Regions from separate parts of the Homo sapiens genome. Here region 2 is linked to region 1. Evidence: promoter capture Hi-C in 16 types of primary human blood cells and fetal thymus (Javierre and others, 2016). All regions are on one chromosome and are shown on one strand. Each heading gives the region's core, a stretch centred on a gene start or on the middle of the fragment in contact. The rest is flanking DNA. Distances are from core to core; before and after follow the strand shown.

Region 1 (2,730 bases), core at 217-2,716:
ATTGTGCTTTTCACCGTGAAAATGTTTGCCTGCCGCTCTCAGATCTGCCTGCCCTGCTGTCACTCTGGGCCAGTGCTGGAGCTGGCACGGGTGGTGAGGCAAGCCTGGCATCCAGGCCAACCACGCTGCTCCTGCCCTCACCGCGCAGCAGCCGGGGCTTCTCTCCATTGTTCTTGCCCTCCCAGATTTTCAAGCTACCCCATAGAAGGGCAGCCTACAGTGTAAACACTTCATTAGGTATAATTCTGCCTTCACAATTATTTTTATTTTTGCTTTGGATCTCAAAAGCATTTGACTCGCCTTTAATATTTGTTCTTTTGAACTCAGTGTTTTTCCTTTAAAAGAGAAAAGAAAGAATTTGTCCTTTCTGTGAATGGTAAAATTAACCCAATTCCAGGAATTGTTTGGCATTTCTCTACATTTCCACTATCCATGTAAAAAGCTGGTGGAGGCTGAACTAAAAGTTAGTTTCCCTGCTTCCCCGACCTTTTTCTTCCAGTGGATTTTATATGGAAAGCTCTCAGGTACAGCATTGCTTTCTGCTTCAGTAAGAATGGTCCTGCTACCATAACACATCATGTGCCCCTATTTGAAGGTGGTTTGAGGTAAAAGCAAACTTCCGAGAGAAAACCATGATCTGAATATTTTGAACCAATTGTACAGTGCCCATATGCTGAACCTTTGCTTCTCTGCTTCGAGACTGGATATCTACTTGTTATCTGGATGCTTGCTTTGGGGTACACTCAGCTGAATGTTAGTGGCACCCATATTCCTCTCAGAACTAACTAGGCAGGCACAGAGTGAAAGAGTTTCAAAGATATCCTTTCTAAGCGGAGGTTAAGTTTATACAATAGAAGTTTATAAGCTTACCACCTTTAATTAAGCTTACTGCCTTTAATTAAGTCAACATGCTATGTAAATTAATATTAATATTAATATGTGAATCAGACCATAAATAAAAATTAAAATTCACACAAAAGATAAGTTAAGGTTTGCCAATCCACTTTATAAAGGAATTCCTTATTACTTAATAGGAATCTTCACTTTACCAAAGGACTGAACTTCAAAATGTTCAATGCTCTGCTAACACATTGAAAACAGGATTTGATTCATACACAGCTTCTCAAAAGCAGATCCCATTTAGTAGAGTGAGGTCTAACTAGTCTGAAAATCGCATGCAATCCCTTTAATGCATAATTCCCCATTCCCTTTGGTTCACACTGTGTTGAGCCAACAGAGCCTCCTGCATGGTTCCTGGGCTCACAACCCGTGCAGACCCTGACATCTTCCCAAAACCCAAGGCACAGAGAATGTTAGGCGACTTACCCCTGTGATCACAGCACAGTCAGACACAGTTACTAGGAGGAGCATGATTGAGACTCGCGTGGCACCTCTCATGGTCACTTGGGGTGAAGGCAAAACACTGCCTGCTTAGATGCCTCTCGCTTCCTCCCGCTCAGCCTTGTGCCTGGCAAGCTGGGGAGGCCAGGCTCTCCTGCATCCCCCGCCTCCTCCCAGATGTTTACACTCAGGATCCAGGGCTGCCTGTGGATGCCTCATCTCTGCTCTTCCCTTCTCCAACACCGATGTTACTCAGATGATCTCAGAAGCGAAGATGAGACCTGAATCTCTAACAACATCAAATCAACATCAAAACCAATAAAAATGGATACTTGGGGGGCTTTGACGGTTGCTCTAACTCTCCCAAGAACGCAGTGATTCAGACAGTTATGTATATTTCACTCAATGTTCTTTTCTGCCTCTGGGTATCCTTCTATCCTACTTGGGGCAGAGGAAAGCCTCTGGTAATGAATTAAGGGATTTGCAACATCACCATTTATGCTTCCCTGCACCAAACTATGCAACATACAAGATTATTGGTTCCCTCTCACTCACACCAAGACTTATCTAGGCATTTACCATGGGCTCAACACAGAGGTAGCTGAGAAGACAGAAGAGGGTGAGGTGGTATCCTTATTTCTCTAAAAGGTTAAAATTATAGTGAGGAGCCATAAGACAGTGAGGAAAAAAAGACCAGACTTGTGGGGCTGATGTTCCTAAGTGACACACACATAAGGATTTGCTCTCTCATGGGCTCAGGATGAACACCAGCAAGTGTCCCTTGGTACAATGACCCAAGGGCAGAAAGCCAGCAAACATACAGGGCACACACTCTCTCAGTACCCTGCAGAGCCGAGCTGGTATGGGCTGTGGCTGAAAGGTACCAGAGCCACACCACTGGCCTTCCAGTTTTAGGGGTGAGCATGAGAGTGGCCTTATCCGTGAGTGTATAAACACGGTGGTCTCAGATGCCAGTCTGGTGGGAAGTTGACTTTCGGGATGGCCCCTCCGCCTGTGAGGGAAGCCCCTGACCCCAGCCCTCTCTGTGTCATACGACCCAGAGAGAGCTCCCAGTGCTTTGTCAGATGATCTGCCTTCTCTCCACAGTAATAAAAGCCAACATTTCCCAAGGTATGTGTTGCAATATGTTAATACACAAATAAACAAATAAAAGACTTCTACAGTCAAAAATTTGGGAAACACAAACCGGCTTGTTTTTTGCAGAACTTTTCAGGGCCTTTCATATGCTAATAAGTGTTTGAAACACCAAGTGGGAAATGCAGTTTGTAGTATTTCACAAGCAGATTCATCCACAAAACCTTTCTTATCAAATGTCACAGGGGTCTAGGGTTTCCACATTGAAACGCTGATAGGCATTTATGAGTGCAG
Region 2 (2,700 bases), core at 186-2,685, 120 kb after region 1:
TTGTAAAATATTCCATTATATTGAATATACTACTACTTATATATCCATTCTTCTTTTGATTTGGGCTATGAGTATTTTTTACTTTTTGTGCTATTATGAAGAGTGCTTGATATAGTTTGAATGTTGTCCCCTCTAATCTCATGTTGAAATGTTATCTTCAGTGTTGGTGGTGGGGCCTGGTGAGAGGCATTTGGATCATGGGGGAGGATCCTTCATGGCTTGGTGCTGTCCTCGTGATAGTGAGTGAGTTCTCCAGAGTTCTGGTTGTTTAAAAGTATATGTCACTCCACTCTCTCTCACTCCCACTCTCACTATGTGATATGCTGGCTCCCCCTTTGCCTTCTGCCATGATTGTAAGCAGGCCAAAACCTCACCAGAAGCTGAGCAGATGTCAGCACCATGCTTCCTGTACAGCCTGCAGAACTATGAGCCAGTTAAAACCTCTTTTCTTTATAAATTACCCCAGTCTTGTGTATTCCTTTATAGCAACGCAGAATGGCCTAATGCAGTGCTATGATGAAGATTCTCATTCATATGTCCTGAGGCACACATGCAAGAATTCCCCTGGGATAGGATGGAGAGGTGAAGGATACCTAGGAGTGGAATTACTGGATTAAAAAGTTATATTGAAGCTGGCCTGTAACCCCAGCTACTCAGGAGGCTGAGGTGGACAGATCACTTGAGCCCAGGAGTTCAAGGCCAGCCTGGGTAATATAGTGAGACCCTCCCTGTCTCTTAAAAAAAAAAAAAAAAAAAAAAAGGTTATATTGAATATTCAATTTCACAGGATAATGTCAAATTGTTTTCTAAAGTGGTGTTTAGCAATTTACAGTCTCATCAGTAGTGTATAAGAGATCTTATTGATCCACGTCACTAACATTTTATAACTTTTTTTAATCAAATGGACATAAAATAGCATGTCTCTGTGGTTTTGATATTTTATTTCCTTGATTACTAGTGAGGTTGCATATCTCTTTATAAGTTTACTGGCCATATATATTTCTTCATCTATGAAATATCTACTCATGTATTTTGCTCCTCTATTGAATTGTATGTTTCTTATAGGTGTATGAGTTTTTCACATGTTCTTGATCCTAATCCTTTATTATAGAGTGTATGTATGGCAAACATCTTTTTCTAGTTGTGGCTTATCTTTTCACACAATTTAAGCTGATATTTAAGATACAAATTCTTAATTTAAATAAGATTGAATTTATCAACATTTTATAGTTAGCACTTTCTGTATCTTGTCTAAGAAATCCTCATCACTTTCCCCAACCCTGCCACCAGTATTTGACTATATTAAATTTTTGTTCTTTCTTATAAATTATAAGGCAGAGTGGTTCATACCTGTAATCCCAGCACTTAGGGAGGCAGAGAGGGGAGGATAGCTTGAGCCCAGGAGTTTGAGATCTGCATGGGCAACACATAGCGAGACCCTGTTCTCCACAAAAAGGAAAGAAAAAGACAAAAAAAAGTCTCCCTATAAAAAAATTATTTTTCCTTATTAAAAAAGTATTTCAGTGAATATGGATTTTTTCATTTAATTAGGTCTTATTTCGTTTCCTTCAGCAAAATTTGTATACTTGATGAATACTCTTGCATCTCTTTTAGTATGGTTCGTAACTATTGGTAATGGTGTCTTTTTAAATTAAATTATGCTTTTTATTTGTCTGTTGTCAGGATTCGAAATACAGGCCCTTGCTAAATTTTTTTTTTTTTTTGAGACAGGGTCTCACTCTGTTGCCCAGGCTGGAGGGCAGTGGTGTGATCACGGCTCACTGCAGCCTCGACCTCCCAAGGCTCAGGTGATCCTCTCACCTCAGTTTTTGTATTTTTAGTGGAGATAGGGTTTCACCATATTGCCCAGGCTGATCTTGAACTCCTGGGCTCAAGCAATCTCCCCACCTTGGCTTCCCAAAGTGCTGGGATTACAAGCATGAGCCATTGTGCCTGACCCCCTTTTAGTTTTTTATGTAGGCAGTCATATCATCTACAAATAGTAAGAATATTTCTTCCTTTCTAATCCTTATGATTTTGCTTTTCTGGTGTTACTGTGCTGACTTTGACTGATAGAATCTTTGATAGAATGTTACATAGAAAGAATGATGGTGAGCACTATTATTCCTTATTTTATTTTATTTTTATTTTTTGAGACAGAGTTTCACTCTCGTTGCCCAGGCTGGAGTGCAATGGCATGATCTTGGCTCACTGCAACATCTGCCTCCTGGGTTCCAGTGATTCCCCTGCCTCAGCCTCCTGAGCACCAACAGGTCTGTCTAATTTTTTCTATTTTTAGTGAGGAGAGAGGCCATTTCTCCTCCTGTCCCGTCTCCAAAGAAAAGGAGGAAGTAAAAACTGAAAAATAACAGACTGATCGGCGCCACTGGCCAGGCCTGTAGGTTAAAGATTAACCCTCACCCTGGCCAGGCATGGTGGCTCGTGCCTGTAATCCCAGCACTTTGGGAGGCCGAGGAGGGCGGATCACGAGGTCAGGAGATCGAGACCATCCTGGCTAACATGGTGAAACCCTGTCTCTACTAAAAATACAAAAAAAATTAGCTGGGCGTGGTGGCAGGCACCTGTAGTCCCAGCTACTCGGGAGGCTGAGACAGGAGAATGGCGTGAACCCGGGAGGCGGAGCTTGCAGTGAGCCGAGACTGTGCCACTGCACTCCAGCCTGGGCAACAGAGCAAGACT

Evidence for each region. Contacts are between HindIII fragments. The CHiCAGO score rates a contact against its expected background, and 5 or more counts as called.
Region 2: a fragment that was not itself captured here is called in contact with the fragment with the promoter of PROK1 in region 1 in 2 of 17 cell types (M2 macrophages and total B cells); the score reaches 6.1 in M2 macrophages.

What each region holds. Positions count from the first base shown.
Region 1 is chr1:110,449,885-110,452,614 of GRCh38, reverse strand. It overlaps PROK1 (prokineticin 1), which reads right to left and starts at 1,466. Exons shown (of 3, transcript NM_032414.3): 1 at 1,327-1,466. The coding sequence starts at 1,398. The HindIII fragment of the contact is 11,265 bases long and covers 887-2,730 here.
Region 2 is chr1:110,330,607-110,333,306 of GRCh38, reverse strand. The region is part of intron 1 of RBM15-AS1 (RBM15 antisense RNA 1); the gene reads left to right. Among named protein-coding and RNA genes, the nearest start is that of RBM15-AS1, 7.2 kb to the left of the region's middle. The HindIII fragment of the contact is 5,554 bases long and covers 1-2,700 here.